2 separate regions of the Homo sapiens genome follow, and region 1 is linked to region 2. Evidence: promoter capture Hi-C in human tissues and cell types (Jung and others, 2019). All regions are on one chromosome and are shown on one strand. The core of a region is centred on a gene start or on the middle of the fragment in contact, and the rest is flanking DNA. Distances in the headings are between cores, read along the strand shown. Region 1 overlaps LOC105378198 (a long non-coding RNA gene). Region 2 holds the start of EIF4EBP3 (eukaryotic translation initiation factor 4E binding protein 3).

What was found. The method cuts DNA at HindIII sites, captures the fragments that hold promoters and counts their contacts. A contact is called where the count stands out against the background at its distance.
Region 1: a fragment that was not itself captured here is called in contact with the fragment with the promoter of EIF4EBP3 in region 2 in 1 of the 25 tissues and cell types used here (psoas muscle).

The regions. Positions count from the first base shown.
Region 1 is chr5:140,736,419-140,743,119 of GRCh38, reverse strand. The region is part of intron 3 of LOC105378198 (a long non-coding RNA gene); the gene reads right to left. Among named protein-coding and RNA genes, the nearest start is that of ZMAT2, 39 kb to the right of the region's middle. The HindIII fragment of the contact is 3,756 bases long and covers 2,410-6,165 here.
Region 2 is chr5:140,546,303-140,552,391 of GRCh38, reverse strand. EIF4EBP3 (eukaryotic translation initiation factor 4E binding protein 3) reads right to left here and starts at 4,730. Exons shown (of 3, transcript NM_003732.3): 1 at 4,552-4,730; 2 at 3,316-3,486; 3 at 2,816-3,158. The coding sequence starts at 4,654. The coding sequence ends at 3,130. It overlaps ANKHD1-EIF4EBP3 (ANKHD1-EIF4EBP3 readthrough), which reads right to left. Exons shown (of 36, transcript NM_020690.6): 35 at 3,316-3,486; 36 at 2,816-3,158. The coding sequence ends at 3,155. It overlaps SRA1 (steroid receptor RNA activator 1), which reads left to right. Exons shown (of 5, transcript NM_001035235.4): 3 at 208-410; 4 at 1,223-1,331; 5 at 1,481-2,324. The coding sequence ends at 1,692. RefSeq lists enhancers at 3,660-4,367, 4,518-4,607, 4,368-5,074, 5,075-5,783. The HindIII fragment of the contact is 4,539 bases long and covers 3,788-6,089 here.

The sequences.
Region 1 (6,701 bases), core at 3,038-5,537, 190 kb before region 2:
TTCTTGCAGGCACTCACATTCTCCACAGAGGCCTACTGAATTCTTTCTCATCACATGGCTCCCTAGATGAAAGGAAAGGTCTCACACTGTGACAACCTTCCCCCAACCCACTATCAAGGATTCTGACAACTATCCCTTTCCCTAGTACCGTCTTTATACAAACTGGGGATTGGGGAAAGGTAAGGGGGTGATATCGTGATTGGTTATCAGAAAGCTGGCTTGGCCACTAACTCTTGGCAATCAGGTGGAAGCTACTCTTAGAATTACTTCTTTCTGTTTTCAGCATAGCTCAAATTCCTGGGCAAAAGAAAAACTCTTAACCAGATGGGGCAGCTCATGCCTGCAATCCCAACATTTTGGAAGGCCAAGGCGAGAGGATTGCTTGAGCTCAGGAGTTTGAGACTAACCTGGGCAACAGAGTGAGATGCCCTCTGTACAAAAACTTCTTAAAAATTAGCCAGGTATGGTGGCATGTGCCTGTAGTCCCAGCTACTCGGGAGGCTGAGGTGGGAGGATGGTTTGGGCCTGGGAAGTTGAGGCTGCAGTGAGCTGTGATTGTGTCATTGCACTCAGATCTGGGCAACAGAGTAAGATGCTATCTCAGAAAAAGAGGGGAAATCCCTTGCATATTATCCTTTTACTTATTATGACAATTATTATTCTCTTTTCCCTTGTTTTGCTTTTTCAGGCTGGTCAACTATCTGTTCATTTGCTCTCTTCTGTATATGGGTGTAGGGGCATGGCTCTGCCACGTTGACCTGCCAACCTTATATGTACTCACATAGGCCATACAGGCAAGGCTTAACCATAATTAATCAAAGTCTTGGCGGACATTCTGTGATCCTTGGGGAACAGGCTTATGAGGAACTACCACAAGGCCACTTTCAACTCATCTTTTTATCTTCTTGGGAGGCTGTCATGAGGCAGTTCTTATCACTTCCCAGGTTCTGATAAGGTATGAGGCATTCTGCCTCATCTTTCTTAGGGCAGAACTGCAAGCCATAAACTTCTTAGTTGCAAATGGACTCAGCTCCTCAGCAACAGGGTGTCTCATTACTCAGGTTGCCATCCCCTTTTGTATTGGTGCTGTCCTGTGGGAGAGCTGGAAATTCTGCTTATTTCCTTTTGTGTCTATGTAAGTAATAAACTGTCTGAATCAAACAAGGACTGCTGTTTCTTTACTAATCAAAGCTGCTAGGATTTGCCTGAGAATGGGTTCTTATTTTTCCTTGAAGTTCTGTTTCAAAATAGTTTCTTTTTCAAACCTTGTCAACTTGTCTTGGCAACCAGGGATTTGGTTCATATCTGGGAGAGATGACAGTAGTGAGAAGCTGCTCAGAGGAACTGTGGGGATCTGGAAATTTGGTGAAGAGCAGATTTACTCATGGAGTAGGTCTCAAAAGACTCTTACCAAGGCTAACCTCCAGAGTTTCTGTCCCAACCTTAAACCTCTTCAGCTCCTGACCCAGCCTAGTCTTCTCAGGAATCCATGCCGTTTTAGACCCCTCCTTGAAAAAGGGCTCTCTCCCATCTCCAAGAAAATGATAAGCTTGGTGGGGACATACATAGAGGACTAAAGAGGGTCCATGGACATCAAACCTGCCCCCAAAACACAGACAGGAAGAAGCATGCAAATATATCACTGAGATAATGCAGAAAGTAGATTGAATTTGGAGTTCCTTGACAGATAAGTGTCATGAGTTGGTATACCCTGGGCAGTAGGGTCAGCCTAGGCCTGAATGGTTCAAGAACGATGCTGAGTTTTAAGTTTCCTTCTACCCACCACAACTTCCAGACCAGGACACACAAACTTGGGAAGCCCCCATTTGAGGATGCACACCACTGAGAGAAACCCATGTCTTCCTTTCCCTAAAAACTGTTCCCCCAGCTGTGTCTAGGCTCACTCTCCCTCCTCCCACTCAGTGGCTACCTGCCACAAGTCTTGGACCAGCCTCAGTGCTTCCCAGATGACCAAACCGGGGTCATTTTAGCTCAAATCAACTTTCACAGCCAGTACATGAGTCAGACCCATGAAATCCTCCCAAACTGCCAAATGCCAGCCTTGGGTCTTTAAAGCTACCAGAGCTTCATTGTTACCTGGTTACTAGGTAATAACCCACAACAATTACTCCTCTCTGGATCTGGGCCTAAACATTCTGGTATCTTATAGCTCTTTTGTATTAATACTTTCTCTGATTACCTGAAATGATATACCACATAGAAAACTGTACTAAGAGTTATTGAAGAATGTGCAAAAAATTAACAAGAGGTCCAAGGAAAACTAAGCACATGAAGAAAAGTCAAGCATTAACTTCAGGAAAAGTAGAAAGAAGAAAAGGAGACAATCATGGTATATGACCATGTTCTGCTGGGAATTATATTTTGCAAAGGCATAAAAATGTTAACATGAATATTCATCTAACAAAGAATTGTTAGGGCCAGGCACAGTGGCTCACACCTATAATCCCAACACTTTGGGAGGCCGAGGTAGGAGGATGGCTTGAGCCCAGGAGTTCGAGATCATCCCATGCAACACAGTGAGACCTCATCGCGACTAAAAATAAAAAATTAGCTGGGCGTGTGGTATGTGCCTGTGGTCCCAGATTCTTGAGAGGTTGAGGCAGGAGGATCGCTTGAGCCCAGGAGGTGGAAGCTGCAGTGAGCCATGATCGCACCACTGCATTCCAGCCTGGGTGAGAGAGCAAGAGCCTGTCTCAATAAAAGAAAAAGAAAGAAAAGAAAAATTAAGTCATTTCAATCATATACAAACTATCCTAATTAATAAGAAGGAACACTTCCTAAATGATTTTCTAATGCTAAAATAACCTGATAGTGAATCCTATTGTAAAAAATACACACAAAAAAGGAAAAGCCCAGTCTAATGTCATTAATGTAAATAAATGAAAAAAAACCCATACTAATTATTAGAAAATTAAATCCAGTAGTACATAAAAAAGAATAATACAGCATAAGTAGAATTTCTCCAAGATATGAGGTTGACTTAACATTATAAAAGTAATTAGTATATATGCAAAGTTAATGAACTAAAGGGAAAATCATGATTATCTATGTACATGCAGAAAAATTACTTAATAAAATTCAACAACCTTTCATGATTTTAAAATAATCTTAATTAATCTTAAGATTTTTAGCAGATATTAGTTGTATCCTTAGGCATATAAGAGAATATTTGTAACTTGGTAAGGGTGTCCAGGGGAAAAAAAAAAAGCTAAAGCAAACATCATACTTAATGGTGAAATGATTAAAGCTTTCCCTTTGAAATCCAGAACAAGACAGGGATGTCTGCTATCATCACTTTAATCATCCTGTCGTCATTGTTCCAAAGGGCCTAACCAGTGTATACAACAAGAGAAAAATATAAAGGTCTGAGGTGTTCATATGGCATTCTCCATGGTTAGAAAAAGAAGGGGAAAAGTATAAGGAGGTTATTCCGTAGGATTTTGGGGAACAGGTGGTATTTGGTTACGTGAGTAAGTTCTTTAGTGGTGATTTGTGAGATATTGGTGTACCCGTCACCAGAGCAGTATACATTGAACTCAATTTGTAGTCTTTTATCCCTCACCCACTTCCCACCCTACACCCCTGAGTCCCCAAAGTGCACTGTATCATTCTTATGCCTTTGCAGCCTCATAGCTTAGCTCCCACTTATGAGTGAGAAGATACACCTTCTTATATGAAACTTTTTTATTTAGAGTTAAAACTCTGTATGTTTAGAGTTAATACGAGTATAAAACTCTCCTTATTTAGAGTTAATATGATTATAAACATTATAATATCCAGCAAATTTACAGAAAAACTAGTAGGTAATAAGAATAGCAAATTTTCTGAACATGGAAGTAAATATTCATGAAAGGTCATTTATAAGAAAAACAAACCTGACGCTTCATTATAAAAACAAATATTAATTACATCTCATGGGTCAGAAGTAAAATTTTTAAAAATAAAATAGGTTTTAAAATTTAAAAATATTAAATTGGCAGTGAGGGAGCAACTCACAAATTATTTTATAACGACAAATGTTATCATAAAGGCCCATGCTTAAGAATCAGGCTGAAAGTTGCTTGTTCTGGGCCAGGGGTGGTGGCTCACGCCTGTAATCCCAGCACTTTTGGAGGCCTAGGTGGGTGGATCACTTGAGGTCAGGCGTTCCAGACCAGCCTGGCCAACATGGTGAAACCCATTTCTACTAAAAATATAAAAATTAGCCAGGTGTGGTGGCCCACACCTGTAAGCCCAGCTACCAGGGAGGCTGAGGCAGGAGAATTGCTTGAACCCTCCAGGCGGAGGTTTCAGTGAACCAAGATCACACCACTGCACTCCAGCCTGGGCAACAGAGTAAGACTTTGTCTCAAAAAAGAAAAAAAAAAGTTAATTATTCTGCAGAACTTGGAGGTGATCCCAATGGTACCTCTGAGAAGCCACCCTGTCATTCTAAAAAGGATGAATACGATTAAGAAACATGTTCACCAGCCTGGGCAACATGGTGAAACTTTGTCTCTACTGATACAAAAATTAGCCGGGAGTGGTGGTGTGCACCTGTAATCCCACGAAACTGAGGCATGAGAATCACTTGAACCTGGGAGACAGAGGTTGCAGTGAGCTGAGATCGCACCACTGTACTCCAGCCTGGGCAGCAGAGTGAGACTCTGTCTCAAAAAAAAAAAAAAAGAGAGAGAGAGAGAAAGAAAGAAATATATTCAGAGGAATCCTATGAAGAAATAGAAAGTAAAACATCTAGTATTTCATCATTAATAGGTAATCATAGAGAAGAATAAAAAGAAGAATAAGGAAGGATATGAGGAGAATTGTTACTAAAGGAAATCTATGTTGTATTTTACTAATTGTTCATTTTGGGGCTTTTTTATTTTTATTTTTTTGTAGAGACGAGGTCTCACTATGTCACCCAAGATGGTCTCAAACTTCTGGCCTCAAGTGATCCTCCTACCTCGGCCTCCCAAAATGCTGGGATTATAGGTGTGAGCCACTGCACCTGGCCTCCTGTTCATTTGGATTTTCACTTCTCTGTTTTATTCTTCGTGCCTTCATCTTACTTTAATATTTTCTAAAATTCTATTTTGAGTTAATACTATGTTTTTTAGTGCATCTCTTTGTATAACATGTTAGCGGTTGCTCTGTCCACAACTTATCAAAGTCTATTCATTTTTTTCCGTCTAATTTCTCTCTGTTGTTTAGGTTGGATAATTTTTATTATTCTATCTTCTAGTTCACTTGTTATTTTTTCTGCCTCCTCCATTATGCTGCTGAACCCACCCACCCCATCCACTGAGGTTTTTATTTCAGTTATTATATTTTTCAGTTCTAAAATTTCCATTTAGTTCTTCTTTTATCATCTATTTCTTTGCTTATGCATTCTATTTTTCATTTATTCCAAGAATGTTTATAATTGCTTATTGAAGCATTTTTACAATGGCTAATTTAAAATTTCTGTCAGATAATTCTAATATCTCTGTCATCACAATGTTGGCATCTGTTGATTGTCATTTTTTCATTCTGTTTGAGATCTTCTGGTATGATAAGTAACTTTTCATTAAAACCTGGATATGTTCATATTATATTCCGCTACTCTGGATCCTATTTAAACCTTCTGTTTTAGTGGGATTTCTCTGATACCATTTAGGCAGAAGGGGGAACAGAGAAAGAAGGAGATGTCACCTAATTACTGCCAGGTGCAGGCAGAAGTCCAGGTTCCCCACAGAGCCTCCATTGCCACCTGAAGAAGGGAGCTCATTGTTACTGCTGGGTAAGCATGGAAGTTCTGGCTCCCCTGACACCACAGTGAGGATGGCCACATTACCACTGGGTAGAGGTCTAAGTCCAGTCTTCTCATATAATCCCCCCTGCTGGGAAGGGAAGTATTAACAAAAGATCATGAGATTTGAGGAAGAAGAAAAAAGAGAGTTTTATTTCCTATAAATGGTTACAATCTGCAGGTTGGGAAATGAAACATCCAGCCAAAATGAAAAGCATCTGCTTCAGAGACAAAAGGGAGAAGCTGGGACTTATGCCCAACAAGATGAGCTATATGTACATATTCAGTAGCTTATAGGAGAATCTATGAATATTTGAGAAAACCCTAATGCATGCAAAGAGAATAAACATATATGTTACATATGTTCCATGTTCATTTTGGGGTGGGGATTTAATAGTAAAGTGAAGTGGCACGTGGCTGTTTATATATAACAAGGTGAAACAGAACACAAAGGCATCTTGTGCACAGCCTCTGTGGACTAGGTGCAATCAGTCTGTGGTCGGTGGTCAGTATAACAATGGAATGTTTAATAAGGCTGGTCAGTAGTCATGGTGAAACCACGATAAAAGAGGGGAGGTCAGCCATGACATCAAGAGGTCTCTTGAGGTTGAGGGAGAAATCTTCCAGACAGTTTTTTAGGAACTCGTTTCTGTTTAATTGTAGGAAGGAAAGTTTTGAGGCAGTTAACAAGGTAGGGGAGTGTTGAGGTGTGACTGACCTCTTGCCTTGCCAAAGCCATAGAATGCAGTTTTCAAAGTTTCTGGGGTCTCTTTTGCAACAAGAAGTCCATTCTGTTTCACCTAGGGGCTTAGGGACTTTAGTTTTATTTCACACTTTCCAGCTTTAGGCTGAAATCTGCCATAGGCAGCATTGATGGCTAAATTTTCTAACATGTCCCATGTCGTTCCCA
Region 2 (6,089 bases), core at 3,481-5,980:
TGTGAGCCATCACACCCGGCCACCTGGTTTACTTTTCTAATCTTTAGTGCCTAGCATATTGTCTGGCGTAGAGTGGGGACTTCATAAATGCATATTTTTGAATGAATAAGTTGTCTCAGAGAGTAGCCCTTCTTAGAAGGGGTGAATTTAGAGTTAAGCTTCTTACCCATTTAAGCCATGTTGCTTGATCCTGCTGTACCTTTTCAGTCCCCGCATCAGAGACTTCTCCTGGGCCTCCCCCAATGGGGCCTCCACCTCCTTCAAGTAAGGCTCCCAGGTCCCCACCTGTGGGGAGTGGTCCTGCCTCTGGCGTGGAGCCCACAAGTTTCCCAGTCGAGTCTGAGGCTGTGATGGAGGATGTGCTGAGACCTTTGGAACAGGCATTGGAAGACTGCCGTGGCCACACAAGGGTAAGCTCTGGCACATCAGAGGTTAGAGAGGGCTCCCATCCACAGCCAAATGCAGGAATGGTTCCCAGAGATAGACCCTCTGACCCAGTGGACAGGTTCTTAATCCTTTGAGAGTTACGGACTCCTTCAGAATCTGCTAAGGCCTTCCCAAAGAAATGAACACAGGATTTCAGGAGCATTAATAAGACTTTTGAAGACCAATCAGTAGAAGATGCTGTGGGAACAAGAGTTGAATTCAGCTCCTATTAGTGAACAACCTGATTTTCTGTATCTCCATGCCATTCAGAGCAGAAGCTGCTGATTTTATTCTCAGGAAATTTATATTGTGCCCAGTTAGGGAGAAAGAAACCTCTTCTAGCTATAGTGTTTTCTTAGTTCTTAGAAAAAGAGATCTGAAGAATGTCTTAAAAGAAAGGGAAAGTAGCATGGTCATTTCACCTCTTTGGCGCTTAGTTTTCTTTTTGTGAAGTAACGCTACAGGATGAGCTTCTGAGAGTCTGAGAAGCCCCTGAAATTTTAGAATTCTAGTCATAGTAGGAGGTGGGTTAGGAAGACTGGTGGTGGGAAGATGAGAGAATTCCTGTTTAATGACCTCTACTTTTCAATGAAACATCAGGCAGTGTCAGAAGAAGACAGCAGGGAAAGGAAGGTTTCATCAGTTTCTCAGTGGGGCCTCTAATCTTTGGGTAAAGAACCAGAATTCTAAAGTGTGGGCCAGAGAAAGCAGGTGCTTCCTATGTGGTGCTGTCTTCCCCTCTCCTCCCCTCATTGGGCTGGCAGCACTGAATTGGAGGGGGGCTTCTGTCTCTTAGAAGCAGGTATGTGATGACATCAGCCGACGCCTGGCACTGCTGCAGGAACAGTGGGCTGGAGGAAAGTTGTCAATACCTGTAAAGAAGAGAATGGCTCTACTGGTGCAAGGTATGGGTGGGTTCTTTGGTATAGCCTAAATCCCTTTCCTGCTGTGGTTGGCTATGCTGGAGCAGGTGCTGAGATTTTGATTGACTGGGAGGGGAGGCATGGAAGCTCTTGTACCACAGGCTGCTTGCTCAACCCCCGTCTCTCTTCAGAGCTTTCAAGCCACCGGTGGGACGCAGCAGATGACATCCACCGCTCCCTCATGGTTGACCATGTGACTGAGGTCAGTCAGTGGATGGTAGGAGTTAAAAGATTAATTGCAGAAAAGAGGAGTCTGTTTTCAGAGGAGGCAGCCAATGAAGAGAAATCTGCAGCCACAGCTGAGAAGAACCATACCATACCAGGCTTCCAGCAGGCTTCATAATCCTCGGTTCCCCAGACTCACCGGACACCATCTCCTATGCCTTGGAGACCTTCTGTCACTTGGCTCCCTTCTTACCACCACCAAGACTGTCCCACTGGGCCTGACCCACCTATGAGGGAAGAAGTCCCACCTGGGCCAGAGGGAGTTCATGTGTTACTCATAACATGCATTTCAATAAAAACATCTCTGCGGTGGGCCTTGGGTAGGAGAGATGAACCCTTCCGGTGCCAAGCTAGTCCCCTCTGGTGTCCTCGACTGCCCTGCTCCCTGTGTATCTGCAAACCTCTGTTCTCCCTTCTCCATTCATCAGGAAGGGATCTGCTGGGTAAAGTCAGACTACTGCCTACCACTTTTTCCCAAAGTAGACTGAAAGCACATCCTGTGCTGGGCGGAGCAGCTGTGTTTGGATGGTTTCATTTCAGCATGAGAACAGACTCAAATAGAACGGGGAGACTTTTCCCTCAACAAAAGGAAAGACAGTCCTATTTGCACTGTATCACCCTTGAGATACTACTGTTACAGAGATTAGAACCACATTGAGTGGGGTTTTCTGTGTAAATCGAAGGAGAAAAAGACCAGATTACTGAGATTGGGGATTGTAACTCTGACTTGCCAAACAAACTGCTGCCTCATTTTGGGTTTCAGTGTGAACTCTAAGGTCTCTTGTAACCCTTTGAGAGAGGTACTTGGTGGACTATCATGCTGTGAGAAGGGTACAAGGTTTTTGGTGTTGGAATAGAGGAACTGGTGCTTAGAGGTGGGAAGCAGAAAAGGCACAGGGAGAGACAGGATGGCTATAGGCTGGGACAGCACCTCTTTTCCAAGAGTCCTGCTTTGGAATGGATAGGGGAGGGGCTGCTGGGGGGCCCTGGTTCCAGGAAGGCTGCTTCCTGGGAAGACAGGAACAGCCCTTGGCAGTGGCCAAGCTATTGCTGTTTATGGTTTGGAGGCTCATGTAACCTGCCACTGTAGCGTGCCTCAGGTTCTAATTGCTGCTGGAAGTGGGCCTGGTGGGAGCTGGGAATGATCTGAGGCCTCTGAGCTTAACCAGGCCTGCCAGGGCCTTCAGCTGTGTGGCTGAGATGAGAAAATCAGCATTGAGGAGAACACTGGAGCCAAGGCATTTCTTTGAATGTTTACTAAGCAGTCAGAAGGTGACTTACTCCATTCCCCAGTTCCAGCCCCTGAGCATAGAGGGTTTAGGGTTAGGAGGAGTACCACAGACTGAAGAGGAAGTAGAGTTAAGGGCTTGGCAAGTTGCCCACTCCTATCCCTGGTCTAGCTGCCTCAGAACTAAAGGAGGCCTGGAACTAACAAGTCACTCCCTTCCAGATTAGATGAGGCCAGCTGGCCTTTGGATGCCCCAGGAAGAGGTGGTGGCAGCAGTGGCATGAGGGATCCCTCTGTAACTCCACATGCCAGGTCATCTGCACTGGATTAGATGTCCATTTCAAATTGTGCGTCATCTGGAGAGAGAAAAGGCAGGAAGACAGGTTGCTGGTCTGAGGATCTGCAGGCTCAGCATCAGTGCAGAAACCCCTCTTGGAACTGAACCCCCGCACTGTGTCACAGTGGCATTTGAACTCAAAGGCTGGGACAATTCTTAATTCCTGCTTTCCTTACCGGGTATCTCTTCCTCTGTCTCCTGCTCCTTCAGCTCCTCCAGCTTGGAGAGAGGGGCTGTTGGAGGAGTTGTGACCCCGGGAATCTGAGGGAGGCAGCAGGGGGGTGTCCGGGCAATGGGTGAGTTCTTGCACTCCAGCAGGAACTTTCGGTCGTAGATGATCCTGGTGCCTGTCAAGGGGTTGGGACTGAGGTAAGAGTCAGGAGCTTGGGTACCGAGGTGACTGGGGTCCCAGACTCAGGCCTTTTGGGGCCTGGAGGTGAGGGTGGTGTCAAATTTCCCTGTGTATCAAAGGACATCGGCTCTGAAGCCCAGCTAGGTTCTCAGCAGACAAGCCTTCATAGTGCTTAAAATCTTCCAGACCTAACCAAGATGTGGGTATAAAGCAAGGGGGGCATCCCAGCTGGTATAGGCAGGGGCTTTATGTTTGGGAGAGCTTCAGATCTTGGCTCTAAGAGGAACACCAAACTTTGAGTTCAGGTACTTCATGCTGCTCCTCTACCACTCTGAAACCTCTGCTTTGGTCTCACCAGTGAAGGTGAGACCTAGACTAACAGCCTCAGGTGGTTCAAGAAGTGAAATAGCAGTTGTGAAGGGTTCCACCCAGTGCTGTTACCTGGGCTATCTCCTGCAGGGAGGAGAAACGTACTGTTCTAATCCTGACCCCTCCCAGGTCCTATAAGGTTCACACTAGCTCAGAGGAACTTGGCCCGCATAATGTCCTCAAAGGGTCCTGCCCTGTTCCTCCCCTCCGCTTCCGCGTGGCAGGAATCCCTGGGTCGGGAGCCCAGCAGCTCGTGATCCCAGGCTGCTCGCCCAACCAAACAGACGCCAGCCAGCAGCACAAAAACGGAGCAACTGCCCCAACTGTTCTAACTACTCCACTTCTCAAGACCCGGTGCTTCCGGCTGAGGTCACGCTCAGTAGGGGGCCCTGGCCCCTATTCCTAGGAAGCAAAGTCGCGAGGGGTAAGGAGCGTGTGTAAGGCTCCAAGAACCCAGGCCACAGTGAAGGATTACAGCCCAAACACCCGGAAGCTAGGCTCATGGCCTTGTTGCATCACTTAGAAGTTTTTGGGAACTGAGCTTCCGCTCCAAACATTCTCCCCCAAAGCTACAACCTGTAGAGGGGCCTGCGGACAAGTCTTAGGTCTGTCCCTCCCCTACCCCCGCCCCGCAACAACACGCACGCGCTAATATGTCCGCAGCCTGCGGACCCCTGCCCGGCCCGCTGACCTCCGGGGGTAGTGGCGTATAGCGTGCCCCCCGGCGTGGTGCTGTAGCAGTCGGGCAGCTGGTCCCGGCCCCCGGGAATCGGGCAGCTAGTGGACGTTGACATAGCGAGCGGGAGGAGCAGCAAAGTAACCGCCTGGCGTTGAGGTCGAGGAGCGCAGCTCTGAGTCTGAGGCGGACTCAGCCGACCACGTGCAGCTGCTGGCAACAACACTAGAACAACGTCACGCCCAGGGCGGGCCACCGGCCGTCACTCAACCCGACGGTCCCGCCCTATCTGCTAGGAAGCCAGCCCGGTTCAGAGAAAGCTGGAAATGCGTCCAAAGTCCCAGGCCCCACACCAGCTTCCAGTTCCTGCTGGCCCAGCGCTGGCCAACCTGCCTGAGTGCTGCAGCAGCTCAGCTATTTACTGTTTATAGCCGGGAGCTGGGGGCAGGTGAAGTAGGGCAAGCGTTTTTATCCTGTATTAGTTCACCCATTCCTTGCCAACTTTTGGATAGTAAAGCACTATGATTAGCCAAAGTCACACATCTTGCAGGAAGGGAAGCTGGGATTCAAATCTGACTGCATCTGATTCCAGGACTGTGCCCTTAAGCCCAGCTGTGTACTGCCTCCCATAAACAGTAACAGTACAAGGCCGGGTGCGGTGGCTCACGGCCTGTAATCCCAGCACTTTGGGAGGCTAAGGCGGGTGGATAGCTTGAGCCCAGGAGTCTGAGACCAGCCTGGGCAACATGGTGAAACCTAGACTCTACTAAAAATACAAAAATTAGCCGGGTGCGGCAGCATGCGCCTGTAGACCCAGCTACTCGGGAAGCTGAGGTGGAAGGATAGGTTGAACCCAGGAGGCGGAGGTTGCAGTGAGCGGAGATTGCACCACTGCACTCCAGCCTGGGTGACACATGCCTTGATGGCCTGGAGCACAGCAGGAAGGGGAAGGTCAGTGAGGGCTGGTCATCTTTCTGAAGAAGTGGTACCTGGACTAATAAAAGGATGAGTCAAGTTTGGGGGCTACAGCTGAGGCATCACCAGTCAGAAGGCCTGCCCTTTGATCTCTTTGCCAGTTAACTAAGGAGGGGCAGGGGGCTAGTGAGGAGGGCTTGGTCTTTAGAAGGAAAGAAAGGTCAGAGAGTTTGGCCTTGGAGTTTTTTTTTTGTTTTTTTTTTTTATGTAGACACAGTGATATGACAGGCTGGAGCAAGGTGGTGGGATTGGTGAAGATGTATATATGCTGGAAATCTTGAATTCATCAGGCTGTCCTGTTTGGCTTCCTCAAAATCAATACTGCCTCCACTGTCCCTTCCCCTCACCAAAAATTAAGTATAGACCACCTGACTGCATCCATTTATCAATATTAACTCAGCTCTGGCTTCATCAGATTTCTCCTTAGGTCTGATTTCTTCACTCATTTAAAAAAAGATTGCTTCTCAAACTATTTATTTTCTGAGATAGGGTTTTGCTCTGCTGCCTAGGCTGGAATGCAGTGGTGTAATCTCAGCTCAATGCAAACTCTGCCTCCTGGGTTCAGGCCATCCTCCCAC